3 separate regions of the Homo sapiens genome follow, and all the other regions are linked to region 1. Evidence: promoter capture Hi-C in human tissues and cell types (Jung and others, 2019). All regions are on one chromosome and are shown on one strand. Each heading gives the region's core, a stretch centred on a gene start or on the middle of the fragment in contact. The rest is flanking DNA. Distances are from core to core; before and after follow the strand shown. Region 1 holds the start of GNG11 (G protein subunit gamma 11). Region 2 has its middle 130 kb from the start of COL1A2-AS1. Region 3 overlaps LOC112267858 (a long non-coding RNA gene).

Region 1 (3,475 bases), core at 833-3,332:
GCCACAGGCCGTGTCCTAAAGGGTCAGGCTGGCTAGCAGGGAGAAACTGCTAATGAATGATACAGTCAATTTTTACATAGTCGGTTGCATCCACATCACTTAACTTAAAACTCTGAGTAAGTAGAAGACGCTTGTCTTTTTTCCTAAGTTCTACACAGTGATACCAAATATTAAGATATTAGAACCTTGCATAGACAATGCTGTACTTCAGCATATGAAACTCTGTTTAATATGTAACTCCTAAGGTTTATTGTGTGAACATATCTAAGTGGCCAGCACTTGCTGTACTGGGAACTTCGCCATCCATAAAATGGGTCCCTTAAGGTTTCAAGAAGCGTGCTTATTGATTGGGTAGTGTAACTTCCTTTTTTTCCCCTTTAAACGCGTTGGTGTTTTTAAAGCTACAAACCCTTAACATGATAGAAGGGACAGCTCATTATAAAAGCTAGGAAGAGCCGGGATTTGGATGTGAAAGGTTAAATTTGAGAAAAGAAATATGTAAAAAGTAAAACACAAAAATGCCTGCATCTTCTAATCATCACTCAACAGTGAAGACTCTTGCCCTTAACAGATTTATTATAACTAGAACAGGAAGGCAAGTGAGCATATTATAACGCTTCATTTCCATTGTTTTTCTTAATTTTTTCTAGTGCTAAACCATAATAAATAAGATCAGTTCAAAATTTTCTTGCTGAAGAGGAAAGGTTAATTATCTTTAAACAATATCTATTCAAAGACCTTTCCTAGTCTACAGGATGCCTGATTGAGTTAAAACAGGAAGAGGGATTAGTGTCTGAAGGAAGGTCTTGATGACCAGTAAGAAATTGAAGTAAAACTTATAAAACTCCCGAGACGTTTCAGTGGAGAATATTGAATACTGGGTCATATGTTCTCAATGAAATGGTAATCTCTATCAATAGTCTCTAAAACTTTAAAATTGTGATCACTAAAAAAATTTTTCATATGCACCACAGTGTATGTATAATTATTTATAAATAAGTACAGATACTACTGTATTAATCGCATACTAATAAAACATAAAGTGAAAATTATAAAGGGATGAGATTTACAAATAAATATAGAAATTCTAATATTTTGTTCCCAAATTTCGGTGGACTGTTCTTTGCATATCACTGAAGGCCACTGGTGAAATTCAAAATTAAATAATGTACTTGTAAGACTTTAAAATACGGTTTTAGAAAATTTCTTTCAAATATCATCCTTTCTAGTAGTGTAAAAGATCAAAGAACCAAGTAGCTATCCGCTTTTTTCCTACAAGTGAGTTTTGAAAAACAGCTGTCTAATGGAAAGCAAGATTTCTTGTCTATTTTCCCCTTCCTAGGCATCTTAAAAGTTAGGACATTTGGCCTTAAATTACTTATCAGATCCTTGCTCCCTCCTCTACCTCCTAGGATTTCCCCACATCAGCTGGCAGTCCCCAGGCACTGCCAAAGGGTGGTGAGAAGAGAAGCTACAAAAAGGGGGAAAAATAAGCTAAACTATTTGCTTTACTGTTACTAAGCAGGAAAAATCGGACCCTGCTTCATTTCAGAGAAGGAAATATTCCGGAACAGCCAACTTACTTGTTGTCTCTGCAACTTCACTTCTTTGCGAAGCTGCTCAACTTCCATTTTCAGTTTTTCCTTCTCTGGCAAATCTTCGATGTGAAGGGCAGGCATTTTCGCCCCAGAACCGGGCTCGGGCTAGCTCTGGCAGCGGAGCCGCTGGAAGAGCGGCGAAGCTCGGCGCGTCCCGAAACAACTGAAGGCCTGGCCCGCCGCCCACCCGCGCAGGATGTGACTGCAGCCCTGCTGCGGTCCCCAGCTCCCCGAGGGCTTGGCTTTCTCCGGGACGCTTGTCACGCCAGCGTGCCCCAGCTTCCTAGGACCTGAGAACTCTGCCTTTTCTCAAGTCCCTGCAACCCAGGAGGCCTGCCCGGGTGCTAGATGAGGGTTAAGTTTGAGACTGGGTCCAAGCAGCTTCCCGCTGCTCAATCGCCCAGCAGGGATGCTGGCCACGGACAGGCCCTGACTCAGGACCTGCCACGCCCGCGGGGGACGGCTGGGCTGGGGCTGCAGGACTGGGAACAGCAGAAGTTTTACTTTGTGTTCTCCGCGCACCCCCGCTCCTTTTTTTTTTTCCGTTTCCAAGTCACATCCGGGTTTTGTTTGTGAAGCTAGGAAAAGGAGTACACTACCCAGCAGGAAATAACTACCCTTCACCTCTCAAAGAGTTTTAAAAATATGCTAGATATAGCTTTTCCCTAATTACATACATAGGTTGTTGCAAAAGTAATTACTTTTCTCTAATTACATATATAGGTTGGTGCAATTAGTTTTGCACCAACGTAATAAATGCATAGTGGAGAATGCGGACGCTTAAGAAAAGGCTGAAAAGAAAATGAAGCTTAGCCCTAATCCCAGAAATACCCACCAGTGTTCTGCTCATTTGTGTCCATCCGGCTTGTTCGAGGCCTAATATGGGTTTATACATTTTGGGCGAGGAGGGGGCAACAGGGTGTGAATATCGTTTACAAGTTGCAAGAACATTTTCTATTATTAAATAATCATCTGCATCCTCAACAGCAGCAGAGTTTGTATTTTTTTTATTTTTCCGGGGGAATGTTATGTAGAGGGGTGCATCAAAGGATGATATAAGAGAAGACAGAAGCAGGAATCTTAGAGTTCTTAACCGAAAGCCTTTCTCCACTCCCCAACCCTAAGTTTTGGGTGACACTTGACACCAAGGATTTTGAATTCCTGGCTCCTGAACCTTCCTGGATGTAGGCAGTGGATTCATTTAGTATTAGTTTCTCCACTTTCTGGCAAGCACTATTTATCTAGCTGTTGCTCTGGAAAGCCAGGAAAAGTGTCCGATGTGAAAAAAGTTTACATGCAATAAAACTTTCCCTTTAACTGTAACTAAAGTCTTGTTGATGGTGGTCAAAAGAGTAGAAGAAAAATCAAACATGAATGTAAGAAACCTTCCCTAGCAGTTGGATATTTCTCTTTCTTTCCAGAGATAACCTCCTGCCTCACAGAGTCAAAGGCAAGTGAAATATTAACTTAATATTTCAGAGTAGCTGACCCAAGACACCCATGACCATTCCCTGTTTAGGAAGCAGGAGTTTTTGTTCGTTCCTAGTTTCTTACCACGCTCCGCTCAACCTCAATGAATAAATTAGAATGAAAAAAACAATGAACCACTTAATGAATACTCCTGGCGTGTAGTTGCAGCTCTGCCACAGGCCATCACTGAAGAAGTCATTTAATTTTTCTTAGTTTTGGTTTTCTAATTTGTAAAATGTATAGTAAGGCAGGGAAGTAGTGAATCAGCTAAGCTATGTTGTGTCTCTAATTGTGTTGGTATGTCTATATATGATAAATCATTTTCACAAAGAAAATGTTTAAGAGCTTCACTTTCAATATTTGAAATACCAGGGTTTTCCAAGCTCAGAGTAGTTAGAGCATCTACT
Region 2 (3,607 bases), core at 165-2,664, 340 kb before region 1:
GCATTTTTCATAAATGCCTCAGAAATGAGTGCTGTCTCTGAATCACTAAAGCCAATTACATCAATTTATCATAAAATGTTCTAAAATGCATCTCTTCTCTTACAGAAACACAAAGGAACATATCCCAAATGTATAGTATAAAAGGCTCTCCCATAGTGGAGTTGCTTAGAATTAAGAGCTACATAAATTGAATTTCAAATCAAATGGGCCTATTAGTATAATAATTGTTCAAAATGGGATTCTAGGTCTCAGGTTGTCAAGGCTGCAGTATGTTTACAAGGTCTGAGCTTGTCCTTGACATTTTGACTATTGTTTTCTTTTAGGGTATCCAAGACATGTTATATAAATTCATGTTATATAAATTCATGTCTATTTTACTCAGATTTTAACAATTTAACAAATACTTCTAATGTGGTCATTTTACTCAGACTGCTTAGCCTCGTATTAAATATTGCAAAACTGATATTTACTGAGAAGAGTTTGGATCATTTGTGGAACTTTTTGGGAGAAGAGAGGCTTGAATAAACTAAGTTCAACTTAAGTAGAAAACCCACAAAAGTAAGGCACTTTGTTTATTAGTTTTTTACATCAAATTTTCTATTAAAGAAAATAGTTGGGTGGAATTCCATTTTAAGCAAACAGCGTCATTTTTGATAGCAGTCTCAGGAGAATGAATCAGTGGGTTTCTTTGAGCAATTGGTTTGTTTTTTTCTAGCAGATTCTCAGTATTTTATAACAGATGCTTCCCTCTGCATTTTATCTGCTAGAAAGATTCACGCCATACACATAGTTCACATTTTGCAAGTTTATCAGACTTTATAGCAAGTATTTTGTATACTAATATCACTCCTAATTCTATCTTTTCTTATTTAACTTTATTCGATTCATCTCACTTATAACAAATATATTCTACTTTGCTGCATTATATCTTTTTTGAATTTTCTTAAGTATTTTTCTTGAAATAAGGTATAGTACAAATAAATACTATTCATAATACTGTTTGTGTGATTAATGAAAGCATAGGAAATGATAAATATTAATATTCAAAAGCCAAGTGCCATTAGGTAATCCTCAAATAAATTACTTCAAGCTGCAGTTTAGAAACAAAATCCTGCTAGTTTTTTGTTCAATTAATTCTAAAGTGTATGTAAGTCCTAGCTACACAAGGCTGGGAGAAGAGATGGGAATCCTATTTGTTTTTAAAAAACCTACATACAAAAGAGTGGGGATTTAGTCTGCTTCAGACTGTGCCTGGTAGCTGTTTAATTTTTCCTATTGGCAATTGCTGCATTTGAAGATTATGGAGCCAGGCCAAGGTTGATAACGAATAATTTTCACCAGTCCAGTCATATCAGTTGTTAAACTATTGAAATGCTTTCATGAGAAGTATTTAGTAGAGAAGACTTTCCTTACACCCCCTTAGACTAGCAGTTACCTCCTAGTCATTCTGGCCATCCTGGCCATCTTAAATTCCTTGGCCTCACCTACAAACTGTCAACTTGACACCATAAATGGCCTCTAGTACCCTCCTTCATTCTGATTGGTTAGTATCTCAAAGTAATAATTTCTAACTTTTTGAATATTACCTGTGGGTTAAGTCTACACATGCAAACAAGGTAGAATCTTGCAAAACCAACTGGTAAATTAGAAGGCCAAAATGGTAAAACAAAAAAAATCCAGGCTCTCTCTACTAAAAAAAAAAGGGCTGAAGGTGGGAGGAGACATTTAAAATGATTTTGGATAAAACCGGCAACGAATCAATGAGCCAGTTAGTAAAGCATTTTTGAGTTTTTTATTATGTCTTTACATGCTAGGCATTTTAGAAACTATAAAGAAGTGTAATACCTGGTTGTGGAAGTGACAATATCCCTGTGACAAGATGATTGCCAATCCAGGCAAGGAATATGTTGTATAGACGTCAGAGGATAGAGAGAACATGGATTGAGTATAATTAAGTAGACTTATTGAAGGAGGTAGGACGTGAGCCGAGTCTTAAAGAATGAGAAAGATTCACGAAGGTGAAGATAAACAAAGTTAATTTTATTCTTTTGTAGATAAAATTATCCTTAGGGTGCTGTGCCACAGTCTTAATAGAAAGAGCCAAATATTCAGAGTCAGATTTGAGTCTGCACCTCAACCTTGCCACTCACTAGATGTAGAATTTTTGGAAAGTCACTCAATCCTTCTGAACCTCAGCTCAGCATTGTTGTGAGGATGGAACAATATTGTTGATTGTAATGCCATTAGTAATAATAAGCTTACCTACATGATCGTCTATGTCACATCCCTATCAGATTAAGAACTCCTGTGATTGTTTTTGGCCTGTGCCCTTGTGTGAGACCAACTCCAAGTTCATGGACATGTGGGTGTCCTGAGTGTTCCTGGTGGCCTAATGTTTTAGGGAAAACAGTGGCCTAGAAGTTTTAGGCAATGTTACTGGTGGTCTAGAACTTTTAGGGAAAACAGTAATTGCTCTTCAGAAGGTCAATTTTAGGCTGGCTTTGAATTCATCAGCTAATCACACAAGATTCCATTTTTTGCTTAAATAAACAGATGTAACTAGTGACCCATGTTCTTAAAAAATTTGTTCAGATACTAATTAAATTCCTTCCTTTTGCTCGTAGCTATGCTCCTGTTTAGGTATGCAGACCTGACTTCTTGACTGCAGATCCCCCAAAACCAGAATTGGGTGCTCTGAACATGCTCAAGAGAAAGTCAAATTTGAAACCCATTGTGTTAAAACCTGTTGTAAGGAAAAAAAAAAAAAAAACTACAAAGAACTGTATTTTGTCATCGTAATTACAGAGATGTAGAAAAACGTGTTTTCTACAAGATGCAAAAATATGTGAGACCTCTTTATAACACATGGTATGTTAAGAAACAGCTGTTCAGCTACGACATTAAAATGCTGGTTCTTGAGATGGGTCTTGTCTTATTTGCATTTGTAAGTATGTATTGGGTGGAGAATCTGGATAAAATATCACAGAACTTTAGGCTCTGGGATTTGAGTTAAACTTTAACTCTTTTGCATTGTGTTTGGTTTTCTTCTTTGTCCCATTGGTTTCTGACTGAATATGAAAACAGAAACTTCCCAAGAGGTTTTGAGGGAGTAGGAATACTTCTCAAAATTGAAATAAAAATCTCATCATGGGCACATATTCTCAACTGCTTCCAGGGAACAACAGCAGTTAGAGAAGGATTTTAAAAGATAGGAGAAAAAAGGAGTGACAAGATGGGGAGATGTATAATTTTTTTCCTTTCCTTTATTATAACTAGTTGTTTTTGGTGCAGAAGGTTGTTGTTTGTGGAGCTGGTCCTCAGACCTCTGAGGAGTGCTAAGCTGTGGCCACACCTCAGAAGCTCAAGGAGCCCTGTAATGCTGGGAAGGGGATGGCAGTTGCTGGTTTTGGCACCATAGCAGCTTGAAGGAGGGCCTCTGTTAAGCTGGGGCTCATTCCTTGAGTGTGGGGAGCTGCCTGCCTGGTGATTTTATCCCTAGGGAGAAGGAGAAGACCTTGGTTCTGAGATTGCCTAAAGTGGCTGGACCCAACAGGAAAAATGTAACTTTCCCTTCTCTAGTGCCTTCTATGGCTAAGAGGAAGTCAAC
Region 3 (3,596 bases), core at 614-3,113, 360 kb before region 1:
TAATGAGCTGGTCACTGGAGACTCTACCAATGGTCGATTTGTGGGGTCAAAAGTTCAACAGGAGTGAGTAGAGGAGAGAAAGAAAAGAGAGGAAGCAGAGACAGCAAGTATAGATAATTATTTCTAGTGTTGTAGTGTCAAGGAGGTAGAGAAGTCAGGCAGTTAGTGGCTGGAGGAATGGGAGATCCCAAATTCATTTGCATGGTGATGGACTGACCCAGTAGAAATGGAAAATGTCATGACATGTATGAGACAAAGGACAACTGCAGCAGCAGTGTCCTTCAATAGGTAAGAAAAGGGTTGTCCTTAGGAGCACTGACCACTGATCCATTTTAATTGTGGGGAATGCAGAGTAGGTGGGCCCACATGCTAATATCTTGGTAGATTTGGTAGTAAAAATGGTGGTAGTGGTTGTGGAAATTCTCGCTTTTTTTTTCTTTTTTCCAGAGTGAAGTAAAAAGCCAGTCCAGCTGAGAGTGAGAGACAGGGAAAAGGCTTAGAGGTTTGGGGAGAGAACAGAAAGAGTGAAATAATGATCTAGGAAGAGAGATAATTCATCTTCCTTGTATTCTTCTATTTCTTTTCAATTCTATCTTTCCCACTGGAACTCCCTTCACTGAACTTCCAGCAGAGGCTTTTCCCCAGAGAAGGGTCTTGAAAAATGTTGACTGCATTAATTAATTGGAAGCTCTTCTCTTTCAAATCTGGGCATGGGGGACGGTCAGCGGTTCAAGGCTGTTTCAAAGGCTTTGGATAATTAGACTACTCTCCCTTGTAAAATTTACCCACAACCCTTTCCATCTTTCTGTATTTTAAACTAGTAATTTAGCACGCTTGCATCTGAGCCACATTTTGCAAAAATATGTTTCTGTTGACATCAGATAAGAGTTGAGTTGTGAAATACATCTCTTTAAAGGATTAACTACGCTTCCAAAAAGGCTCTTTGTTGTGAGATTTGCTAACAGATGGGAAATTCTAGGCTCTGGGTGTTAACAGTATTCTTGTGATTGCAGAAAAATAGCTTCATTTTGTGTAAGCAAAATGAACATATACATGTGAAACATGATGACATTGTAAGTAAATATGCAAATAAGAATAGAAAAACATAGTTAAGTTGCTTATGGAGTAGAGAAATGAAAATGGAAAAAGGTTGTTTGTTAATTAACCAGAGCATGCCTAGAAAATATTCTCTCTACCATTTGCCTTCCCAGCATGGTTTCAGGAGCTGGGCTGGCAGAAGAAGTATTTGATACAGCCCTAACTCTCAAATGTGATACAGTTTTGGAGAGAAGCCGTCCTTGTTTTAAAGCATTGGAAAAGTGCTAATATAAGGTGTGGCAGCAATTCTGAAAGCAGTAGAAATCTAGTTTAGACTGAAGCAGTTAGGAAAGGCTTCCTGGAGGAGGCAGGCCTTATGCATTGGCAAACTCTTATTTCTTTGAGTGTAACTTGTGTTTGAAGGGCTTGCTTTGATAAAGTGGAAACTCTCTGGCTTTAAACTTCTATTACACTGGGCTTTCTCTCTAATTAATTTTTTATGGGTATAAATTATATCCCTTCAACTGCCGTGTTTGTTATTCAACAGACATGTTTAGAGCCTACTAAGTGGCCTGGCGCTATGGGTGCCCTTGTGAACTATTTGGTGTCTGCCTTTGAGAAAAATCATAGTATAATAGACAGAGGTTAGCTGGTATGCTTCCTTTTTTTTTTTTTTTTTGCTTTTAACCCAACTATAGTAAAAATTTCCACTTCTTGCTAAGCTATATATCAATTTTTTCCTCTCTTCAAGAAAAACGTCTTTTTAGGTTGATATATGGAAGATACTGGCAAAAATCACTTGGCCAGTAAGGCTCCTGAGGTACTGCTTGGTGGGGAAAGTTGAGGAATTATAAGGAGCATCTGTGGGGTGTGCACAGGAAGAGCCTATTTTAAGTTTACTGTCTAAGTAGGAGATGAATTTCCTTCCAGAAAGGGCTTCTCCTCCGCCTTCCACTGTAGAAGATGCTGATTGTTGAGAAGCTTCACTTGCAGCAGATTCTGGGCTCTTAGGTATAGAAGAACAAGGGATGACTGCTCCTTTTCATTTAGCACATATTTATCAGTCACCTACTATGTGCAAGGCACTAAGACAGATGTGGAGGATGCACAACAATGGCACAGGGTCTGCCCTCCACAAGCTTATATAGGTTGAGTATCCCTTATCTGAAATGCTTGGGACCAGGAGTGTTTGGGATTTCAAATTCTTTAGAATTTTAAAATATTTGCATATACCTAATGAAATGCCTTAGAAATGGGACCCAAGTCTAAACACGAAATTCATCTATGTTTCTTATGCACCTTATATACAGAGCCTGGAAGTAATCTTATGTAATATTTCAAAATAAATTTGTGCATGAAACAAGGTTTGGATTGCATTTTGATTTCAACTTATCACATAAGACCAAGTGTGGAATTTTCCACTGTGGTATCATGTTAGTGCTCAAAATGTTTTGGATTTTGGAGCATTTTGGATTTCAAATTTTTTTTTTATTAGAGATTCTCAACCTGTATTCTATTACAGACAATAAGTAAATAGAGAGATACATAAATAGCTCGTGTACTGATTATTGTTATGAAGAAAAACAAGCTGTGTAAAGCAGAGTAAGGGGGAATGAGAGAGAAAAGGAGAAGCAGTGCTATTTTGGATTGAGAAATCCACTCTGATGATGTGAAATTTGCACAGAGACATGAAGAAAGCAAGGAAATGAGGAGCATGTGGGTCAAGGAAGAAGCTCATTCCAGGAAAGCAAGAGACTTAATGAAGGCTAGGAACTTAGGCACTGTCCAACCGGCAGGTGCACAGATGACCCTCTGTAGGAGGCTGGCATGGCTAGTGGCTGATGGTGTGGCTGGAAGGGACAGCGGGGAGGGGGTGGCAGCAGCAACGTGTAATGTGGGACTCACAGAGGCACAGTACGAACCAGCCAGATGTCTCTTCTTAGCCATGCTGGCCGAATATCCCCTGCCTCATGGCGAGGACTTGATCTCTTACAGAGTTCTGACTCTGTTATCTCAAAAAGCCCTCTTGTCATTTTCAGGAAGTCCTGAGGTTGTTACTGCCTCTTGCTTATAAAAACCTTTACAGCTTCTTTTAGGGCACTTGGGAGAGTATCTCTTTCCTTCCCATGTCCCTTAGAGTCATGGAGAAACCAGTTCCTGCCACCTCCCAAGCTCATCTTGGACTGGGGTCACCCTCTCTTCCTCCGTTGCATTTCCTTCACCATGGCAATTTCCTCTGATTCCTCCTTTTTCTTCCTGATGCTTTTCAGACCCTCCTCATCAGCAAACCACATGGCTTGTTTCTGCTTCTGCTCCTGCTATAGGTCCTAATATTGGCACCCTTGACTCAGAAAGATCTTCCCAGGCCACCTAATACAAAAGTAGTTGCACCCTTCTCAACATTACCCTGCTTCCTTCATATCTCTTAATATTAACTTTCTTAATATTAATTTTCTTCATATTCACAAAATCTCAAAGGATCTCATATTTAATTGTTTATTAGATCTTGGCTTGTGTGATCAGGGACTTGCCTTGTTCACTGTTGTTCCCCTGAGGAT

Evidence for each region. The method cuts DNA at HindIII sites, captures the fragments that hold promoters and counts their contacts. A contact is called where the count stands out against the background at its distance.
Region 2: a fragment that was not itself captured here is called in contact with the fragment with the promoter of GNG11 in region 1 in 1 of the 25 tissues and cell types used here (H1 embryonic stem cells).
Region 3: a contact is called between a fragment that was not itself captured here and the fragment with the promoter of GNG11 in region 1, in 1 of the 25 tissues and cell types used here (mesendoderm cells).

What each region holds. Positions count from the first base shown.
Region 1 is chr7:93,920,342-93,923,816 of GRCh38, reverse strand. GNG11 (G protein subunit gamma 11) reads right to left here and starts at 2,082. Exons shown (of 2, transcript NM_004126.4): 1 at 1,584-2,082. The coding sequence starts at 1,679. All of the region lies in intron 1 of LOC105375402 (a long non-coding RNA gene), which reads left to right. RefSeq lists an enhancer at 1,845-2,480. The HindIII fragment of the contact is 9,220 bases long and covers 1-3,475 here.
Region 2 is chr7:94,261,277-94,264,883 of GRCh38, reverse strand. No RefSeq gene overlaps it. Among named protein-coding and RNA genes, the nearest start is that of COL1A2-AS1, 130 kb to the left of the region's middle. The HindIII fragment of the contact is 7,264 bases long and covers 1-3,607 here.
Region 3 is chr7:94,281,644-94,285,239 of GRCh38, reverse strand. All of the region lies in intron 2 of LOC112267858 (a long non-coding RNA gene), which reads left to right. Among named protein-coding and RNA genes, the nearest start is that of COL1A2-AS1, 110 kb to the left of the region's middle. The HindIII fragment of the contact is 3,966 bases long and covers 1-3,596 here.